3 separate regions of the Homo sapiens genome follow, and all the other regions are linked to region 1. Evidence: promoter capture Hi-C in human tissues and cell types (Jung and others, 2019). All regions are on one chromosome and are shown on one strand. Each heading gives the region's core, a stretch centred on a gene start or on the middle of the fragment in contact. The rest is flanking DNA. Distances are from core to core; before and after follow the strand shown. Region 1 holds the start of SLC6A18 (solute carrier family 6 member 18). Region 2 overlaps TERT (telomerase reverse transcriptase). Region 3 holds the start of LOC124900189.

Region 1 (3,765 bases), core at 648-3,147:
TCACGGGATGGGCCCCCATTGGGGTTCAACATTCCATCGCAGCCAAAGGCAGTCGGCACTTGGGACATCTGCTTCCACGGACAGGTCACCTCCGCTTTGCACGGAAGAATCTGGATGCTTACATTAAACTGGTGTTCTGAGAGTTCCTACGGACAGGTCACCTCCGCTTTGCATGGAAGAATCTGGATGCTTACATTAAACTGGTGTTCTGAGAGTTCCTACGGACAGGTCACCTCTGCTTTCCATAGAAGAATCTGGACGCTTACATTAAACTGATGTTCTGAGAATTCCTACAGGCAGGACTGAAAGCCTGGTGTGTGCCAGTATGATGTTCCACCCACAGAAACCTGGTCACAATCGTCCCTTCCAGCACCCCATCCAGCAGTGACTGCACACACTGAGTCCCCTACCAGCCCCTTTCACCCTGCTGACTGTCACTGGGCCCTGGGATGCGCAAGACTCCACAGCAGCAGAGGTGGGGGGACATATCACAGCCTCTGCCCCCGGCTGTGATGCCACCGAGGGGCTCGCCTGCTGATGGCTTCAACAGGGTCTCACCTCATCTTTTCCTGCTCTTTGGCCCTGGATCGAGAAAATTTCCATCAGTGCCCCATTAATATGCTGCCCTGTGGCATCTGCCCAGGAGGCCCTGCCAGGCGTGCACAGGTGTGCATTGGTGTACCCTGGCATGCACAGGTGTGCACTGATGTGCCCTGGCATCCATTGGTGTACCCTGGTGTGCCTGCCATAGGACCCTGGGCGGGAGCTCCCATCTCATCTACATCTCCTGATTCATGCGTTGTTTCATAGGTTTCAATGTCTCTGTAAATGTGGTAGAAATGCAGGCTTTATGGGCATAAAGTGTACATTTCTAAATAAATCCCTTCTATTGAGTATGCTCACCCTAGAAGTTACTGTTGTCCAGACGTAGAGGGATGAGTGAGCCAGTGACCTCAGACGGGATGGTGGGGACGGCAGGTCCAGCTCCTGCCTCCTCCTGGGGGGTCTGGCTTTGGGGGCTTGCTCCGAAGAGGCCATGGCCCAGGCCTGTGGCCTCACAATGGGGACCAACCAGCTCTTCTCATCTTCTTCCCTCACACTTCCTCTCACTCAAATAAGAACCTTCCAAAAATGTGTCCACCTGGGCCCCTGCCCTGGGACTCATGGATTTGGAGTTGTGGCCACACGGTTGAGGGGTGCAGTGTCCAGTGGAATGGGGCAATTGCGGGCCTGGGGGCCCTTGGCCTGTCCGTGGCGGGAGCATCTGCAAGGAGGAGCCCCAGAGTCCAGGGAGCACTGTGGGGAGCTCCTTAGAGCTGAACTCACCCGGCGTCAACTCATCAACCCTCCACCCATGGACAGGGGTGCCCCCAGCACAGGAGAGGACTCAGCCCTCTGCCCCCACGCACGGTGGGTGCCTGTCACCCTGTCCTGCCCAGCGGCCCGAGGGCAGCAGTGGGTGTGAGGGCAGCCCCCGGCCTCCCAAGAGCAGCTGAGAGGATCCCTGCGGGAATCCGGGCTTCGGGTGCATGCGATCTGATCTGAGTTGTTTCTGACAGTGACAGAGTGACAATCTATAAGTATCTCAAGATCAAATGGTTAAATAAAACATAAGAAATTTAAAACGATTAAAATATGCCTCAGTCTTGGGAATCCTGGTGTCTGCAACAAAAAAACTTGAGGCTGTCCTTGCAAACGGTCCTCATGGTGCTGGGGGTGGTGCCAGGCCCGGCGTTTGCCTGGAACACAGAGCATGCGAGAAGGAGCAGAGGACGTGGGTGCCAGGGAAGGACCCTGGCGTCAGAGCCAGGGCCTGGACCTGAGTTACCCATTAACGGCACTCCACTGGTTTTCCTTTAAAGAAATGAATAAATACAACTGCAGTGGGGCTGCTTGTGGTTTCCAAACGTCGGCAGAGGCTGGAGACGGCTCTCTAGTGCTGGGTGTGGAGTGAGGCACCACCCTTGCCCTGAAGCCTGGGGCACTCAGTCACCATGGCTCATGCCCCAGAACCGGACCCGGCCGCCTGCGACCTCGGGGATGAGAGGCCCAAGTGGGACAACAAGGCCCAGTACCTCCTGAGCTGCACTGGGTTTGCCGTGGGACTGGGGAACATTTGGCGGTTCCCATACCTGTGCCAGACCTATGGAGGAGGTAAGCACCCACCTGCGTCCTGGGGCAGACCCCTAAGCAGGGGAGGCCGTCTCCACCCTGACCTGCCAGGCGCCTGCCACGCATCCCCAGTGCTTGGGCAGAGTCACTCCTCCTGGAAACCAGGGTGCACCATTGCCCACGGCAGAGTCAGTCCCCTCAGGGCCCACCTGCAGTCTTCTGGGACCTCAGGGCAGCTTCACCACTGCCCACAGCACGGAGGATCCAGTCCCCTCGGGGTCCACTATGGTCTTCCGGGACCTCAGGGCAGCTTCCTGCCAGGCGTCAGGTTGAATGGGCCGCCCTGCCCGACACACACACCCTACAAACAGTGAGCGCTCTTCCATCTGAATGTCGTCAGTTCTTTAAAGAACACACAATCCGCTCTGGGTTTCCTCACCACAGCCTTGGTGTGTCCAGACATGTGCTCAGGTGCCCTTCTCCGAGGTTCTTTGCAGGAATTTGGGGGCCCACCCCTCGCCTCCCTGGCTTTGGTTCTCTGGGAGAGCCCTGTGGGGGGTGCCAGGATGTTCAGAACTGTCTGGGTGACTTTAGTGACCTTGGACTCACCACCCCCAGAAGTGCATTGGTGACTGAAATAGGCTCCCACGCACCTCGAGCCTCCCCTCACCCTGTGCCTGCTTCTCTTCATGCAGGGGTCACACTCTGCTCTCCATGTGGCGACACAGGATGTAGGGACAGGCATGAATCACTGCTCTCAGGGAGCCGACGTACAACATCACGCATGGACACCCAGGTCTTCCCCAGGCAACACGGGCAGGGGCTTCCCAGGCCGCAGGGTCCTCCTCAGGCCAGGCCGGGCTGCTTGGTCAGCCTGTTCCCCGGGCCCTCAGCTCCTTCCCTGAGAGCCCCGCACAACTATCCCTTGTTATAAGGTTACTCCTTTAAAGTGTTTTTCCTCCTGCTTAAGAAAAGATTCTCAACAGGCAGAAAATGCAGGAAATGCGCACAAATGGAAAAAACAAAAAGAAACACCCGTCACTGCCACCCTCGGGGCACTGGGGTCTCTTTGGGGCTTTGGGGCTGGAGAGGGTGCATTGGGCCTTGGATCTTCTCATCATGAGAGTCCCTTTGAAGGCATTTCTGAAAGCACCAAAGCCCAAGGGCAGAGGCGTCCCTGGCTCCCGGGGCCCTCGCTGCCTGTGCTGCGGCTCGATCTGCTAAGAGTCACCAGAGCATGCAAGGTTGTGGGGGCAGCAGGCTTCACGCAGAGCTGGAAATGCCGGCCAACGCTTTACCCACCAACGCCTTGTTCGCCAATGCCTTGCCCACCGATGCCTTTCCTGCTGATGCCTTGCCCAACGCCTTGCCCACCGACGCCTTGCCCACCGATGCCTTGCCCACCGATGCCTTGCCCGCCGACGCGCCCAACGCCTTGCCCGCCGACGCCTTGCCCGCCGACACCTTGCCCGCCGACCCCTTGCCCGCCGACGCCTTGCCCGCCGACGCCTTGCCCGCCGACGCCTTGCCCGTCGATGCCTTGCCCGCCGATGACTTGCCCGCCGATGCCTTGCCCGCCGATGCCTTGCCCACCGAAACCCAGTTACCATTGCTAAGCGCCTGCAGTGTACTGGAAGTGTCTGGCACTAGCCT
Region 2 (4,008 bases), core at 617-3,116, 43 kb after region 1:
GGGAAAATACACAGCAAGGTTAACTTTACACTTTTTACGTAGTATCTGTCTACGAGGGACTGAATGTCAAACAATTTACACAGCCATAAATAAAGTAACATTCTCCAAAGCGGTTAAATGAAAAACTTAAATTTCTTTCCAACAGACGAGCTCTCTACAGTTAACTGCTACAGCAATTCCTCATTCATTATAAGTACTCAGTGTTTACCATCAGCTTGTGCAATTCTGTGCCAGCTGAAGACGAACGAAGGCCATCAGGCGCGGCCCCACTTCTCAGACTCTTAGGGAAAAATAACTGAAGACGGTAAGAAAGCTGGGGCTGGGAACCTCGCCCCCTCTGAGCCACGTGGTGCCCTTTACCAGCATGGCAGCTGTGGTCCTCAGCATGATCCGAGACCCAGATCCTATCCACAGGAAGCTGGGCATGGTGCACTGTGTGACCCTCAGGCCCAAGCCCAGCGCCCCATGACCATGGGCCAGAGGTATCCTGTCCCAGAGGGCTGACCAGTGTGCCGCCAGCTCGAGGACACTTTCCTCCAAATCCCAGAGCAAGTTGTGTGTACAAGAAATTTTTGTTTCTGTTACATAAACTTATTTCAATCTAGAACTTGAACCTTAATGAAGAAGAACCTTGATCCACTGTACATGCTATAATTGGAGCTAGAGTTTCAAAAGATGCACAGGAAAAACCCGGAGTCTTCGAGAGAAATGGCTGTGTGGCCTGCAGGCTTCCTGACGCATCCTTCACTAACTGTCTGCTTGTTCAGTGATACTATTTTCATAAAAAAATAACTGCTGTCCACATCCTCTCCAGCACCAGAACACTTTTACACTGTTGGTGGGAGTGTAAACTAGTTCAACCATTGTGGAAGACAGTGTGGTGATTCCTCAAGGATCTAGAACTAGAAATACCATTTGACCCAGCCATCCCATTACTGGGTATATACCCAAAGGATTATAAATCATGCTGCTATAAAGACACATGCACACGTATGTTTATTGCGGCACTATTCACAGTAGCAAAGACTTGCAACCAACCCAAATGTCCATCGATGATAGACTGGATTAAGAAAATGTGGCACATATACACCACGGAATACTATGCAGTCATAAAAAAGGATGAGTTCATGTCCTTTGTAGGGACATGGACGAAGCTGGAAACCATCACTCTGAGCAAACTATTGCAAGGAAAGAAAACCAAACACCACATGTTCTCACTCACAGGTGGGAACTGAACAATGAGAACACTTGGACACAGGGTGGGGAACATCACACACCAGGGCCTGTCATGGGATGGGGGGAGTGGGGAGGGATAGCATTAGGAGATATACCTAATGTAAATGATGAGTTAATGGGTGCAGCACACCAACATGGCACATGTATACATATGTAACTAACCTGCACGTCGTGCACATGTACCCTAGAACTTAAAGTATTAAAAAAAAAAAAGTAACTGCTGTCAATAAAAGCCAGCTGAGTTGAACCACATTAGGTTGGCACGATATTTAGGTGTGTGCGTCCTTGGGTGTAGACCCCATGCAAGTGGGATGGGCAATGGGCTGAAGAGGCGCCCAGTCCAGGCCACCTGTCGAGGGCCTGCTGGGAGATGTGGGGCCTCAGGCTGCACCAGCCCCATCTCCCCAAGGACCCTAACGGAACCTGGGTGACGTGACAGAAGCTGGTGTGCTTCCTCGGTGTTGAATTCACATGCTCATCATGCAGGGCAGCGGCCCTCCCGCCTGCTGAGCCCTGAGGCCTCTGGACATGGCCGCTGGACAGAGCCTGCGTGGAGCCCGCAGTCCTCAGGCTGTGCAACCCCTCCCGTGCGGCTTCATACCAAGAAGGGGCTGCAACCTTGTCTGGTTCCTCAAGACAGAGCAGTCATGGTCTCCAGAGCACCAGGAATATTAACACTGAATGCATCAAAAGCAAATCAACCCCCACCCAAGCCCCCCTGGGGAAGAGGAGGCCTCACCCGTCCCGCCGAATCCCCGCAAACAGCTTGTTCTCCATGTCGCCGTAGCACAGGCTGCAGAGCAGCGTGGAGAGGATGGAGCCCTGCGGGATCCCCTGGCACTGGACGTAGGACCTGGGGCGGGAAGACACAGGTGAGAGACGGGCAGGGCATGTGCTGGACATGCGTACACTCAAACCGAGCCACACACAGACACAGAACCTCATACACACAAACGACACGTCTACCATTCAGCCGGCAAACACCTCAGAAACATACCAGATGAGACCTCTGAACAAACAATCCCTGCTCCCCACTCTCACCATGCACTGGGGCGGCTGAAACAGATCCAGCCACAGGTGTGACCACATCCTTGCTCTGAATCATCAAGGTTTTCTTTCATTAAGGTTTCTTAAATCTTAGAGTTTATTCACAGAACCAGACACTTGACCCGGAATGAATGCTTAACCGGACTCCTTTTTTTTTTTTCAAGGAATTTGTCCACGGTGAAAGACTCATGACCCTACATGTAGCCGCTGCGCGCCAACGGATACAACCTTGCCCCTAGTTTCAGCATGACCAACGAGAAGCAGAAACTCTCCAAACAAGGATGCCAAGGGTGCGTTTTCAGACAAACAGTGAGAGCAGAATAGCCCCGTGGAACCTAAAGGTGCACACAGAAGGCATGGCTGCCACGCGACCCTCAGCCATCCCCAGAGCCCACAGGACGCCACTCCTGTTGCTAAGAGACGCTTGCAGCCTACTGCAAAAACAAGACCTGTTATTTTCGGGAAGCGCTATAGGTGGTCACCTTAAAAAGAGGCTTTCCGGCTGGGCGTGATGGCTCACACCTGTAATCCCAGCACTTTGGGAGGCCGAGGTGGGTGGATCACCTGAGGTCAGGAGTTCGAGACCAGCCTGGCCAACATGGCAAAAACCCCTCTCTACTAAAAATACAAAAATTAGCCAGGCGCAGGGGGTGGGTGCCTGTAATCTCAGCTGCTCGGGAGGCTGAGGCAGGAGAAATGCTGGAACCCGGGAGGCGGAGGTTGCAGTGAGTTGAGATCGCGCCACTGCACTCAAGCCCAGGCAGACAACAGTGACGTTCCGTCTCAAAAAAAAAAAAAGAAAGAAAAGAAAAGAGGCTTTCCTTGCTGGTGCAGATATCACAGTGATGGGCAAGAGGACTGCACTTTTTGCACAGAAGCACACGCACCAACTCTAGGAGTCCGGCCAGCCCAGCGAGTCAACGCAAGCAGATACGCCCCTGTGAGCACATGGGATGGGAAACTCTCTCTGTTCTTAGTTTTTGGGGCAACAGGTTTTGAAGACGTTTTTATTCAGAGGCCAAACTGGACCACGATGGGGACTAGAGCTTCGGGCCTGTCCGTGTCCTAGGGACAGGACAGACACAGTCACCTCCTGTCTGTCAGGGCATGAGGACGCAGTCATCACCTCACATTCCCCAAAGCCCTGCCACACGTGGACGGTACGTGACTTGATCCATCTTAATAAAATTCACGACCACGAAGGAGGCCCGTGGTGGCTTCTCTGGGGAGGTGACTTTGTCAGCGAATTCTGTGGGCCTGGGGGCCGCTTACACACATGTGCACACGTGTCCCTCGGCCAAAATTCACTCTGCTGCCATGTGCAATTTGTGTTTTTCCAGAACGTGTGTACTACTTAATATTTCTAATTATACTTTAATAAATATTATAATTGCTGATACCATTAGTGATTACTTATAATGCAATAATTAATAGTTATATTTTTAAATAAAAGCTTCCGAAGCTGTGCACAGTCCTTTATCCGCTGGAGACGATCCCAGAGAGAGGCCTCCACGTTCCACCTGACTGCGGATGACCTTGCTGATGACCTTGAGTGTGCACGAATTTCCTCCGTGCTACCACTCTCCCCAGGCACACACAGGGTCGCAGGCAGATGCCTGCCGGGAGGTGTGTGGTTTTACTTAAAATCCAGAGGACGTGATGTGGCACCAGGCACTGTGGCTCTACCACCGTGAGTGTGGCTCACCCAGTGGCTGTGTGACGGCA
Region 3 (3,890 bases), core at 1,246-3,745, 43 kb before region 1:
AGAAGTGGCAGCCGAGAGGGCAGCCCGGGAGGTGCCACCCGAGCTGACGGTGACACCACGGTGATGCCTGGCTGAGCTCAGGGCGGCAGCACACCCCTCCTCGGGACCGCCTGTGTGGGTGTCCCCTGTAAGGTGGCATTGCCTGGGCCCCCGCCAGGCCACAGTTTTCCAAAGACTCCAGGGCTTGGCTGCTGCATCCAGCTGCAAAGAGGCCTGCTGGGAAAAGAGCTGATGCCACAGGGAAGAAACGCGACCCCCACGGGCCCTGCTGGCCTCTCCAAGGCCCCGACCACTGGACGCAGAGGAAGCCGGCCTTGCGTCAGGGTGAGATGGATGGAGACGGCCACGGGCAGTGCTGCCCCCAGCGGGGCGCGCCTCACCCTGGACTGTGGGGTCCTCTCCACAGGCAGCGCTGCCCCCAGCGGGGCGCGCCTCACCCTGGACTGTGGGGTCCTCTCCAGAGCCGCCCATCTGGTCCTGAGACTTGGCCCAAGGCTTTGGGTCCACAGCCTGGCTCTAAGGAAAGCCTGTGCCAGGCCTTGGGGAACCCATTGCCGAGCAGTCACAGAAAGCTCCCGGGGTCCCCGGGGCCCATCTCAGTGAAGCCTGAGGCGGGGGATGGGGGTGGGGAGCAGGGCCCTTCCCGCTGGAGCCTGGAGCCTGTGCCTCTGGGTCCCCTGTGGGGTGGGGGCCTCATAGCCATGCTCCCAGGGTGGGATGCAGCGCCCTCCCCGCTGGAGCCTGGAGCCTGTGCCTCTGAGGCCCCTGTGGGGTGGGGGCCTCACAGCCATGCATCCAGGTGCCTGGTTCTTCCCCCATGGAGCTTGTCATAGGTACGGCTGGTGTGCCAGAGTCTGAGGCCCTCTGTCCCGAGAGCCGTCGTTCTCCAGGCTCTAGGTACCAGACCTCCATCTGTGACTCCCCCAGGCGCCCACACTTTCCTGGCTCTCCTCCGCCCCCGACCCCATCTGCTGGGGCCCTGGCAGCCCTTCCACGTCTGCTCCTCCTTCCTCCTCCCCACAGAAGCCCTAGGGATGGTCCCAAAGCCAGGCCGAGTGTGTGACACCGTCTCCAGCTCCCACGTGCTCAGGGTCGGGGCGGGCTCAGCGGGGTGTCTGGCTGCTGCCTCTCACCCCTTCCCTCCTTCGGAAACACGGCACTGGGCCTGACATCCACCATACGGGACAGTGGCTGGGCTTCTCTGGCCAGACCGAGGGGCCGCCCCTGCTGGCACTACGGGAGGTCACCCTGCAACACCCCGGATGCAGGGAGGATGCCCCCAAAGGAGCCCCCTTCTCCTTCTGAGGCTTCTGAGGAGCCCGGGGCTCAGCGCAGCTATAACCCCTTAGAATCCCCCGCTCCTCGGAGCCCCTGCCACCTCCCCGGGCTTTTCCCAAACACTGCCTGCTCATGGTGGGCTCTGGGACCTTCTGGAAAAGAGGTAGCCCTTGTCTTTTCAGTGCTTCAGAGGCCGTGCTAGTTCTTTGCCAACACACGGGCAGGAAGAGTTGAGTGGCGTCCAAGGGCCGGAAAAGCCGAGCCCCTCCCCAGTCCTGGCCTTGAAGGCTGCTCTGTTCCTGAGCTGGGCACAGAAGCTGCAGTGACTCAGGGTCCACCGTGGGGTCGGGCCTCACCCTGGGCCCAGGTGAGCCAGAAGGGACAGCGCTTTGAGGGCTGACCTCACGCAGGTCCCCGGGCCAGGGAGAGGCCGCACCTGCGCCTGGGTGGTGGAGGGGAAGGGAGGAGGGGCTGCTCCCACTCTGAGCAGGCTCTGGAGGAGGATCAGGACAGGCCCTAAGGCGCTGTTTCTCCCCCACCCCATGGCCTTGGGAGAGGGTCTGCCCCACTCCCTCTTCTCTCCCATGACCTCTGACCCTCAGCCCCTCCTTCCTTTGGGCCATGCTGGCTAGTAGGCTCCTCCCATGTCCACAGCGGTGGCTCCGCGCTGCCCCTTGGACTTCCCCGAAGTGACCCTGACCCCTGGACCTTGGCCACCCCTCCCAGGCCACACCCCGACCTGGTCCCTCCAAGTGTCCACCAAACCCTGGAAGGGAAACACTGCACGCCTGTGCCCTGGGGGCCGGGGTCTGCCCAGAATGCCTTCTCTTCCTTGCTCCTTTCACTAAATGTTCTTTTCTTTTCTTTTTATTTATTTATTTATTTATTTTTGAGACAGAGTCTCGCTGTGTCGCCAGGCTGGAGTGCAGTGGCGCAATCTCAGCTCACTGCAACCTCCGCCTCCTGGGTCCAAGTGATTCTCCTGCCTCAGCCTCCCTAAGAGGAGCTGGGACTACAGGCGTGCGCCACCACATGCAGCTAGCTTTTGTGTCTTTAGTAGAGACGGGGTTTCACCATGTTGGCCAGGATGGTCTCGATCTCTTGACCTTGTGATCCACCCGCCTCAGCCCCCGAAAGTGCTGGGATTACAGGTGTGAGCCACTGCGCCTGGCCTGAATGTTCTTTTCAGGACCACTCAGGCCTCCAGCCCCAGGCGCCCAAGAGGTTTACCTGTTTCCCACCCAGGAGCCCCCACCCTGCGTGTCCTCTGACAGCTGTGGGGACCTCACTTCAAACGGGCTTCAAGGGAGGCCCCAGCACTGTGTCTTACCTCAGGCTGAGGTCTTACCTCAGCCTCAGGTCTTACCTCAGCCTCCCTCCCGGCCCGTCCATCTCAGGTCCCCTCAGCGCCCCCGGCAGATGTGCCTGAGAACCTTGCTGAAGGGGTGCCAGGGTCGGGGACTCCGGGACTCACAGCCAGAAGAACTCTCCCTGCACCCCGCTGCCCCGAGGAAGGGCGTCCAAGCCCTGCCTCTCCCAAGGCCCACCTCTCAGGGGCAGCGGATCGGAATGGGGCACCCACCCGGGGAGGCCCTGTGCTCCCGATTAGATTATCAACACCACACAGTTCACCTTTGCTCGGCTGCGCTGCTGTTGGTTGAGGAAAAGCAAAGAGGAGTTACATTTTAACATTTGTGATAGCGCAGCTAGCAGCTCGCAGCTCCTGCAGACAGCTGCTGGGGGGAGGGTGCCCAGGGAGTCCACGCTGGCTCCAATAAACCCGGCTCCCAGAGACGTGTGTCCTGTCGCCAGGCCTGCTCGCCCCAGAGAGGCTGTGGGGCACAGTGAGAAACGTCTCCGGCGTGATTGCTATTGGTGAACTGTGAGTTTCGTTCACCTGCTAAAAATGTTCCCCCAAACAATGTTTCCTTGGAAGCACTTCCATTTCAAAATACAGCTGCAAAGTGCCTTGCTTGGCCCGTGAAGGTCAATGAGCCCGCAGAAGGGGCAGAGACAAAAGGGTTTTTAATAACGCTCCTTGCTGTCAGCAGCAGCACAGGCTCTGTAGACAAGTCAGGCTTTGTTCCCGGCAGTCCGCTGTCATTACATGGGGCAGCTCCATAAAGATACCAAGGCCAGCTCTGAGGCCAGGGTGCAGACTCCAGATGCACAGATGCTGGGCCGGGGATGCCCCTCACCTGGACAGGAGGACAAAATCCCCAGGAGCCCTGGACGGGGGTGGGGCAGGAATGGGGTAAACCACATGCAGCATCCAGCACCCGGCACCCGGCACCCAGAACCCAGCACCCGGCACTGTGCTCAGTAAGGCCTGGAGGACACCAGGGCCGGCCCCAGGGAAGAGGGGGAGAGCAGGTGGCTCCGTGGTCAGGGCTGGGCAGAGGCAGGAAGGGGCAGGGCCAGCGGCCTTTGGGTAACAGCGAAGCTCCTCCTTGCTTGGTTTTCAAGCTCTGAGACCCCTCAGGGGCTGCTGCAGGGGGTGAGGGAGGGGCAAGAAGGGGCATGAGGGGGAAATAGGAGACGTAAGGGGAGCTCACTTCTCCCCCAACCCTTTCCAGGGCAGCAGACCCCCTCTGGCCAGCGGTGTGTGCTCC

Evidence for each region. Contacts are between HindIII fragments. The study calls those that stand out against the background at their distance.
Region 2: a fragment that was not itself captured here is called in contact with the fragment with the promoter of SLC6A18 in region 1 in 1 of the 25 tissues and cell types used here (spleen).
Region 3: a fragment that was not itself captured here is called in contact with the fragment with the promoter of SLC6A18 in region 1 in 1 of the 25 tissues and cell types used here (spleen).

Annotation. Positions count from the first base shown.
Region 1 is chr5:1,223,484-1,227,248 of GRCh38, forward strand. It overlaps SLC6A18 (solute carrier family 6 member 18), which reads left to right and starts at 1,898. Exons shown (of 12, transcript NM_182632.3): 1 at 1,898-2,154. The coding sequence starts at 1,995. SLC6A19 (solute carrier family 6 member 19) reads left to right here. Exons shown (of 12, transcript NM_001003841.3): 12 at 1-1,628. RefSeq lists an enhancer at 2,292-2,834. The HindIII fragment of the contact is 11,488 bases long and covers 1-3,765 here.
Region 2 is chr5:1,266,545-1,270,552 of GRCh38, forward strand. TERT (telomerase reverse transcriptase) reads right to left here. Exons shown (of 16, transcript NM_198253.3): 9 at 1,976-2,089. Among named protein-coding and RNA genes, the nearest start is that of TERT, 27 kb to the right of the region's middle. The HindIII fragment of the contact is 5,877 bases long and covers 1-4,008 here.
Region 3 is chr5:1,179,999-1,183,888 of GRCh38, forward strand. It overlaps LOC124900189, which reads right to left and starts at 2,849. Exons shown (of 8, transcript XM_047417960.1): 1 at 2,645-2,849; 2 at 1-213. The HindIII fragment of the contact is 9,122 bases long and covers 1-3,890 here.